Regions from separate parts of the Homo sapiens genome. Here all the other regions are linked to region 1. Evidence: promoter capture Hi-C in human tissues and cell types (Jung and others, 2019). All regions are on one chromosome and are shown on one strand. The core of a region is centred on a gene start or on the middle of the fragment in contact, and the rest is flanking DNA. Distances in the headings are between cores, read along the strand shown. Region 1 holds the start of RHOT1 (ras homolog family member T1). Region 2 overlaps RAB11FIP4 (RAB11 family interacting protein 4). Region 3 has its middle 2.6 kb from the start of TRT-CGT4-1.

Region 1 (3,176 bases), core at 523-3,022:
GCCTGTAATCCCAGGCACTGCACTCCAGCCTCGGTGACAGAGCGAGACTCTGTCTCAAAACAACAACAACAACAAACTATTTCATCATATATTTAAGGATCAGTTTTTTAAGCAAGTCGTCTACTCACTTTCCCTACCTTGCTCCAAAAGCATAAGCATGAATTATATGTTAAATAACACCTTCCTGAACCTTGTCAAGGAAGTCCATGAAAAATACAGATTAAGATATAGTTATAAATAAAAATAAAAATTTACAACTGCAAATCAAAAAGTAAACTATGGCTGGCTAAGCTTACTCCTAAATTCTAATTCTAAAGGAAGATTTCTCCAAACAGCAGGTGGATGAAATTTCAATGAACTCAAAGAACACTACAGAAGAGGGTAAAAACGTGTTAACTTTCTTCCTTGGGATTCCATCACGGTGACCCTGAGGGGTTACCAAGAATGAAATAATGGTTTAAAACAGAATGCTTCGAAACAGCAATGGCAGACTATTAACGAATGTATTAACTCTTTAAAACAAACAATCCAGTTATCCCTGGCCCACTTTCTTATTTTAGTCCTAGCAACTGAGTTACATAACTTGCAGAGTGAAATCAAGAAGTCCCCGCTGTTGCGTCCTCATGTCAGTGAACAGAGGGAACTCTCCTTTATTATATTTTCAAAAGGTGAAATGTATGAAATTTCTGGGTGGGGGGAGATATCAAATGTCTGTGTGCCTGTGGTTATTAATAAGTTAACTACGAAGTAACTATGGAATAAATAATGCTTAAAAAGAGGGCAAAGATTACGCTTTAGGGTAACAACAATTGGACCCTCCCCAGATAATTCTAATTCATTGAGCGCTTGCATAACTCGAAGTTGAGTAAAAATTTTTGATGAAATATCTCGAGTACGAGGAGTTAGTCCAATGCAAAGTACAAGTACTGCTAAAAAGGATCCGGCCCTTTCCACTACTCATATCTTAATGTCAATACATAGAGAGAGTGAAGACTGCGAGTGCCAAAAAAATGCAGAAACCTGACCTTGCCCACAAGTCGAATAGTTCTGCACCCCTCCCCCAGCTTCCCCGGGAGCCGGTTCACGCAATCCCTATTGGTCAGTCTGCTTATTCCAGCACCTGCCTGGCAGTGATAAGGGAATCTCCAGAAGACAAGAAGGTCTGAAAGGAGGCGGCCTGGGAAACTGTGAGGCCCAGAAGGACAGGGTTCGAAGAGGAAAAGGAGGAGAGAAGCTTCGGAGGGATGAGGTCGGGCGGTTAGGGCTAATAGGGACATGGCTTGGGAGGACGGCTGGGGAACAGGGAAAGGAGATCTCTGGAGGGCCCAGGTGAGGTGACAGGGTGAGGGCCGCCGGCGGCCAGCCAAAAGAGAAGAGTGAAGGGGCTGGAAGGCCTAGGAACGCGGAGAAAGGCGAGCGGAGCTGTGAGGCGCGAGAAGGGCCGGGGCTGCAAAGGTTGGGGCTGCAGGGGCGACAGGGGCGACAGGGGCTGCAGGGGCAGGGAGGGCAGGGACTCAGGGGCCGGCCAGAGGGTGCGGACTCACGTTCTCCCACCAGCAGGATCCGCACGTCTTTCTTCATGTCGGCGGCTCTCGGGGGCCGGCCTCCGCCCGCACGCACGGAGTGGACTCCTCTCACCAGGAGCACCCACCCCACGGCGCCACCTGCCAGCCTCTTCGGCCGCCGGGGCCCGCCGCGCCGCCCCCTCAGTTGCTTCCCCGCAAGAGAGCCGGGACAGCGCCAGCTCCGCCTCCTCCGGCCCAGCGGGCTGTGGCGGCGGCGGCGGCGGCGGCGGCGGCGGCGGCGGCGGCGGCGGCGGCGGGGACGACGGCACGCGGCGAGGGACACGCGCTTTCGGAACGCGAACGCGCTCTGCGCCGGAACAGCGCTCCCGCTGTCAGGCCGCCGCAGCGCAGGCCCAGGGAGCCTCGCCCACCCTCCTTTGGGCACCGCGACCCCGGAGACACTTGGGCCAGGAATTTGAATGGCGGATTCCCTGGTTTAACCCCGTTTATTTTATAGATAGGGACAGAAATTCCCTGTTCAAAGTCACATAGCTAGAGCTTGGCAGTGACTCAGAGCAGGGATCTTCTCACCAGACCATAAACTCCGGGAGGGCAGCGATCAGCTTGCATGGTTTTCAGCTGCGTCCCCACGTTATTGGATAGGGCCGTCAGAAAATGCTTGATCGAGTAGGGCGACTGGCTCCCAGGATCCGGCGCTTTCCACTCCCCAAAGCCCGTCACCCTAGTTGCTTTTGCCTCTGATGCTTATAAAATACGATTATAAGATTCGTTTTTACGCTGTGTGAACAAGACTCCTTTCTTTATAACCAAACTAAGTGACTTTTTTTCTGTCTATGTAGTTTATTTTATGGCAGGGTTTTCGGACACTCTTCTTTACTCAGGCTTACCCAGCGTAATGCTAGACACGGAGGTGGCACTCGATAATAAACTCTAGATGATTTTTCTAACATTGCCTTAATTTTCTCGTGACCCTCTCCATCTGGAGGAATTTGTTGTTACATGCTTAATGTTTGGTACACAATGGCAAATATATATATATACATACGCGTGCGAATATATATCACATCCCTAATACTTGGCACACAGTGGGAAATATAAAATACATAAATTAATGAGGAAGCACTATCTGTGCATAATGTACATTTTTTCTATCTTAAATATTACACAATAAACACTTAAAGGGAATGAAATGTGCGTAATACCAACTTCCCTTTCTCCTAGGAGAAGTCATGTGGTCTCTTGCAGCAGTTAAGAGTTGCTGGCAAATTTCCTGGGTTTGAATCTAGGCTCCACATAATAGCTCTGTGATCTCGACTAAGTGCTTTTATTTTTACTTCCCTCAGCCACTGTTCCTTCTTCTGTAGCATGGAAATAATGATGATAATACCTTCCTCTTGAGATGGTTGTGAGTAATAAATACTATAATACTTGTCAAGCATTTGGTACAGTGCCAGACTCAGAGCGTGTGCTCTACTGATCTCAGCTATCATTATTATATTAAAAAGTCACTAAAAAGTTGTAATCCACAGATTTTTTGTTTTGTTTTGGTTTTGTTTTGAGACGGAGTCTCGCTCTGTCGCCCAGGCTGGAGTGCAGTGGCGCAATCTCGGCTCACTGCAAGCTCCGCCTCCTGGGTTCACGCCATTCTCC
Region 2 (3,176 bases), core at 322-2,821, 720 kb after region 1:
AGAACGGAAATCACAGTACAAACAGTGATAGAACAACAGAAATTGCCTAATCCAAACAAGGAAAATTACCAAGGATTCAGACAAACATTATATTAAAGGGTCAACTCACCAAGAAGATACATAACAATCCTAAATGCATATGTCCCTAAAAACAGAGCTTCAAAATACATGAAGCCAAACTAATAAAATTGAAAGGAGAAATAGACAAATTGACAATCATAGTTGGAGACTTCAACACTCCTCTAGAGAATATAACCAGTTAGATAGAAAATCTAATTTTTAACAGTAGAGCTAGTTAGATGAAAAATCAACAAGGGATCTAAAAGGTCTGAATACCACCACTAACCAGCTTAACCTAATTGATGTTTATCGAACACACCACCCAAGAATAGCAGAATACACGTTCTCTTCATGTAAACATGGAACTGTCACCAAGGTAGATCATGTAGATCATATCTTGGACGATTAAACAAACTATAATACTTTTTTTGTGTGTGGTGGGGAGGCAGGATCTTACTCTGTCACCTTGGCTGGAGTGCAGCGGTGTGATCATAGCTCACTGCAGCCTCCACCTCCCAGACTCAAGCAATACTCCCACCTCAGCCTCCCGAGTAGCTGGGACTACAGGGATATGTCAACACGCCCAGCTAATTTTCTTGTAGAGACGGGGGGTCTCACTATGTTGCCCAGGCTGGTCTCGAACTCCTGGCCTCAAGAGATCCTCCTGCCTTAGCCTCCCAAAGTGCTGGGATTACAGGCATGAGCCACAGAGTCTGGCAACAAATTTTTAAAAACTGAAATTATAAATGTATGTCTTGCCGGGCGTGGTGGCTCACATCTATAATCCTGGCACTTTGGGAGGGGCTGAGGCAGGTGGATCACCTGAGGTCAGGAGTTTGAGACCAGCCCGGCCAACATAGTGAAACCCCATCCCTACTAAAAATACAAAAAATTAGCTGGGCGTGGTGGTGGGCACCTGTAATCCCAGCTTACTAGGGAGGCTGAGGCAAGAGAATCACTTGAACCCAGGAGGCGAAGTTTGCAGTGAGCCGAGATTGCGCTATTGCACTCCAGCCTGGGCAACAAGAGCAAAACTCTGTCTCAAAAAAAAAAAAAAAAAAGTCCTGTGACTATAATATAATTAAACTAAAAATCAGTCTCAGGGCTCAGTGGCTCACGTTTGTAATCCCAGAGCTTTTGGAGGCTGAGGCAGGTGGATCACTTGAGGTCAGGAGTTCAAGACCAGCCTGGGCAACATGGTGAAACCCCATCTCTACTAACAATACAAAAATTAGCTGGGCATGGTGTCCTGTGCCTATAATCCCAGCTACTTGAGAGGCTGAAGCACGAGAATTACTTGAACCTGGGAGATGGAGATTTCGGTGAGCTGAGATCACACACTGCACTTCAGCCTGGGCAACAGAGCGAGACTGTCTCAAAAAAAAAGAAAAGAAAAGAAATTTTAAAACAAGCAAAAAAATCAAAAACAGAAAGGCATCTGAAAAATCCTCAAATACTTGGGAATTAGGCAGTATGTGTCTAAATAATTCATGAGTCAAAGATGAAGTATCTTTTTGTTTGTTTGTTTGTTTGAGATGGAGTTTTGCTCTTGTTGCCTAGGCTGGAGTGCAATGGCGTGATCTCGGCTCACTGCAACCTCTGCCTCCCGGGTTCAAGCAATTCTCCTGCCTCAACCTCCCGAGTAGCTGGGATTACAGGCATGCACCACCATGCCTGGCTAATTTTGTATTTTTTAGTAGAGATGGGGTTTCTTCATATGGGTCAGGCTGGGCTTGAACTCTCGACCTCAGGTGATCCACCCCCTTCGGCCTCCCAAAGTGCTGAGATTACAGGCATGAGCCACCGCACCCAGCCCCAAAGTCTCAAGAGAAAATAAAAATAATTTAAACTAAATGAAAATGAAAATACAATACCATAAAATTCAAGCCCAAAGCAAAAGGGAGGAAAGAAATAATAAAGATAAGAGCAGAAATTAATAAAATTAAAAATGAGACTGGTAGAGAAAAATCAACAAAACCCAAATCTGGTTTTTTTTTTGAAAAGATTAACAAAACTGATGCATCTCTAACCAGAATGACAGAGAGAAAGAGAGAGAGAATACAAATCACCAATATAAAAAATGAGGCTGAGCACAGTGGCTCACACCTGTCATCCCAGCACTTTGGGAGGCCAAGGTGGGAGGATCGCTTGAGACCAGGCATTCAAGATCAGCCTGGGCAACATAGCAAGACCCCATCTCTACAAAAGATTAAAAAAATTAGCCAAGCATGGTGGCACATGCCTCTGGTCCCAGCTACCGGGGTTGGGTGAGGTGGGAGGATCGCTTGAGCCAGGGAGGTCAAGGCTGCAGTGAGCCTTGATTACACCACTGCACTCTAGCCTGGGTGACAGAGTGTGACCTTGTCTCGAAAAAAAAGAAAACAGAGATATCATTACAGTCTTACATCCTTTAAAAGGCTAATAAGGGAACACTAGAAACACTTCTACACACATAATTTCTACAACTTAGATGAGCTAATGGACCAATTCTTTGAAAAACACAAACTACCAAAACTCATGCAAGAAGAAATAGATAATCTGAACAGTCCTTGAGTGATTAAAGAAATTAATTTCCCAATTTATATCCTTCCAAAAAGGAAAACCTCAGGACCAGATAATTTCACTAAGTATTTAAGGAAAATATACATAAATTCTACACTACCTCTTCCAGAGAATAGAAGAGCCACTTCCCAACTCGTTTTATGGGGCCAGCAATAATACCCTGTTACCCAAACCAAACAAAAGCAATATAAGAAAACTACAAACCTGCTGGGCGCAGTGGCTCATGCCTGTAATCCCAGCACTTTGGGAGGCTGAGGTGGGCGGATCATGAGATCAGGAGATCGAGACCATCCTGGCTAACACAGTGAAACCCCGTCTCTACTAAAAATACAAAAAATTAGCCGGGCATGGTGGTGGGCGCCTGTAGTCCCAGCTACTCGGGAGGCTGAGGCAGGAGAATGGCGTGAACCCGGGAGGCGGAGCTTGCAATGAGCCGAGATCGCCCCACTGCACTCTAGCCTGGGCGACAGAGTGAGACTCAGTCTCAAAAAAAAAAAAAAAGAAAAAAGAAAACTACAAACCAATATCCCTCATGAACACAGATGCAATGAGCC
Region 3 (3,176 bases), core at 403-2,902, 590 kb after region 1:
AAAAATTGATTTTACCTGCAGGTTAGAGAGGCCACTGCGGAAAGAAAAGAACCCCTGCCTGCTTAGATGCAACCTAGATCATGATATTTGAGTGTCAAAGATGACTGAATGAGGGCAGAGATACCCAAGACCTGGTTGTGCTCTGGTGAGTTCGTATTCATCCTGCAGAGCCCAGCCACAATGTCACTCCTCAGGGAAGTCTTCCTTAGCCCTTCAGGTCAGGACCTTCCTTGTGCCAAGGCTCTGTCTCTGTTCCAGCTGCTGGAAACACAGACATGAGTGAGACACCATCCAAGTCCTAAGGGGCTTCCAAGTATGGTGTGAGACACACAGAGGGGTCCCAGACAAGAAACTGAGGGACTCCTTACCTGGGGGAATCAGAGGCTTCTCAGAGGAGGTAATACCAGAGTCTCGCCACAGGCAACCAACCTGACTCCGATCCAGCGTCTGGATCTAACTGCCAATTTGATTTGCAGGAAGTACTGAGGACTGAGGAGCTTACTGGGTTGCACCAAGAGTTTGCAGTAAGCAAGATCTAGACTGTGGGAAACCCTCCAGGTGCAGTGGCCCAGGGTCCTCAACAGACACACTGCCAGGAAATGAAAGGGAAGGAAGGGGTACCTCCTGATTGAAAAAAAAAGCTTCTATCCATTTTTTTAAATGAGCAAAGTTAAACTATAGTGTACAAAGATGTCGCGATGCTCAATTAGGTGATAAACTAAAATGCAAGGAAGTGATTAGAGGGTAAGGATACTTATGGCCCTGGGGAGGTTGTGATTAGGGGGGGACACACAAAAAGGGTTTCTGGGGTATCCGGCAAAATTCTCTAATTTGGATAGTGTTCCCCTTATAATTCATTAAGGCATTCACTTGATTTGTGTGGTTTTCAAATTTGTTTTATTGTATGGTAAAAGACTTAAAAACATATTTCTTGGGCTGGGCACGGTGGCTCACGCCTGTAATCCCAGCACTTTGGGAGGCTGAGGCAGGCAGATCACGAGGTTAGGAGTTCGAGACCAGCCTGGCCAACATGGTGAAACCCTGTCTCTATTAAAAATACAAAAATTAGCCGGGCATGGTGGCAAGTGCCTGTAATCCCAGCTACTCGGGAGGCTGAGGGAGAAGAACTGCTTGAACCCAGGAGGCGGAGGTTGTAGTGAGCCAAGATCGCACCACTGCACTCCAGCCTGGGTGACAAGAGTGAAACTCCGTCTCAAAAAAAAAAAACAACAAAAAAAAAAGCATATTTCTCCAGGCTGGTATTGGGCTAAAACTTATAGAATGAGGCATAATATATAGACTTGCCAAATTCTGGTCTATGTTTTAAAAAATATCCTGGAGGTTTTAGCTGCCCACAAATGACTGTGTCTGCCTGCGTGGCTCTCAAAATGCAGTACCAGAGGCCCTATGTTTTGCCCTGGACACTAAGGAGGAGCAAAAGGGAGGACTCTACCAGGGGTAACCAGCATGGGCGGAGCCTTTGCAGCTCCAGCGCTTCCCATCAGGGAGGACTGCTTATAACTCCCTGGATGGAGGAGCCCTGGTCACATCTCATCATGAGGTTGCAATGGTCAAGCCCCATTGCAGAAGGGGCTACTATGATGGGTGGGGTGGCCTGTGATCCCCTTGCTTCTGCAAGGTCCAGGCTCTGAGGTAGAAACCTAGAATTTCAGGACACAAGGCATTTAGGACATAGCTCTTTCAACTGTAGAATTTTACAACTAAGGAAGCTGAAGTCCAGGGAGTATCAGCGATTTAATGGAGGTCATGCAACAAACTCAACATATGTGTCCCTTTCTGCCCCTGCCTTCAATTCTGTCCTTATTCTTTAAGCCAATGACCTACCCCTGGCTCCACAGGGGTGCATGTAGATACCTGCTGGCCTTCAAGGTAATTACAAGATTTCTGTTCCCCAGGCTCACCCTGGTGCTTGTATCTGACTTGCCTTCACTTCTAGTTCCTCTCACAAAACTTGACCTGGAATCCATACTTGACCCCTGCCTCTGGTCCTTCACTTTTGGAAGCCCATGTTTCCCCAAAATCTTTACACTGACCTCTTCTGTACCTTGCACTTTTTTTTGAGACAGTTTCTCATTGTCTCTCAGGCTGGAGTGCAGTGGCACCATCTCAGCTTACTGCAAACTCGACCCTCTGGGCTCAAGCGATTCTCCCACCTCAGCCTCCAGAGCAGTTGGGACTACAGGCATGTGCCACCATGCCCGCTAATTTTTTTGTATTTTAAATAGAGACAGGGTTTCGCCATGTTGGCCAGGCTGGTCTCAAACTCCTGACCTCAAGTGATCTGCCTGCCTCAGCCTCCCGAAGTGCTGGGATTACAGGCGTGAGCCACTGCGGCTGGCAGTTTTTGTATTTTTTATAGAGATGGGATTTTGCTGTGTTGCCCAGGCTGGTCTCAAACACCTGACCTCAAGTGATCCATCCACCTTGGCCTCCCAAAGTGCTAGGATTACAGGTGTGAGCCACTGCACCCGGCCCCTTGCATTTCTCTTATATTGACTTCGGCTTGGCTTGTCCCTCTGCCCTCCGCTGGGGTGGAATTCTCTGCTCCAGCTCCTTCAGAAAACCCAATGTTTGGCCGGGCACGGTGGCTCATGCCTGTAATCCCAGCACTTTGGGAGGCCGAGGTGGGTGGATCACGAGGTTAGGAGATGGAGACCATCCTGGCTAACACGGTGAAACCCCGTCTCCACTAAAAAATACAAAAAAAGTTAGCCGGGCATGGTGGCGGGCGCCTGTAGTCCCAGCTACTCGGGAGGCTGAGGCAGGAGAATGGCGTGAACCCAGGAGGCGGAGCTTGCAGTGAGCCGAGATCGCGCCACTGCACTCCAGCCTGGGCCACAGAGCGAGACTCCGTCTCAAAAAAAAAAAAAAAAAAAAAAAAAACGGAAAACACAATGTTCAGTCTTGAAGCTCCTTCTCATCAGGAATTTGAAGGGACAGGATTCAAGGCAATATCCAGTAGAGCAGGACTTTTCACCTTCCTATTTCTATGCCTGAATATCTGGACTCTGTTTAGGCTGAGGCGCTTGTCAAAAAAGGCCTCAATTTGTATTTAATAACACTTTCATGATGACACTGACACCCTAGCTCGGCATTACCTTCAAAAGCCAAGAGCGTCTCTTCCATTTATTGGGATCTTAGAGAAAAGGTCAATA

What was found. The method cuts DNA at HindIII sites, captures the fragments that hold promoters and counts their contacts. A contact is called where the count stands out against the background at its distance.
Region 2: a contact is called between a fragment that was not itself captured here and the fragment with the promoter of RHOT1 in region 1, in 1 of the 25 tissues and cell types used here (dorsolateral prefrontal cortex).
Region 3: a contact is called between a fragment that was not itself captured here and the fragment with the promoter of RHOT1 in region 1, in 1 of the 25 tissues and cell types used here (lymphoblastoid cells).

What each region holds. Positions count from the first base shown.
Region 1 is chr17:32,141,098-32,144,273 of GRCh38, reverse strand. RHOT1 (ras homolog family member T1) reads right to left here and starts at 1,772. Exons shown (of 20, transcript NM_001033566.3): 1 at 1,545-1,772. The coding sequence starts at 1,581. LOC105371730 (a long non-coding RNA gene) reads left to right here and starts at 1,139. Exons shown (of 2, transcript NR_136413.1): 1 at 1,139-1,249; 2 at 1,561-3,048. RefSeq lists silencers at 1,492-1,551, 1,582-1,811 and an enhancer at 2,272-2,441. The HindIII fragment of the contact is 2,047 bases long and covers 764-2,810 here.
Region 2 is chr17:31,419,501-31,422,676 of GRCh38, reverse strand. The region is part of intron 1 of RAB11FIP4 (RAB11 family interacting protein 4); the gene reads right to left. Among named protein-coding and RNA genes, the nearest start is that of RAB11FIP4, 29 kb to the right of the region's middle. The HindIII fragment of the contact is 9,425 bases long and covers 1-3,176 here.
Region 3 is chr17:31,551,054-31,554,229 of GRCh38, reverse strand. No RefSeq gene overlaps it. Among named protein-coding and RNA genes, the nearest start is that of TRT-CGT4-1, 2.6 kb to the right of the region's middle. The HindIII fragment of the contact is 6,994 bases long and covers 1-3,176 here.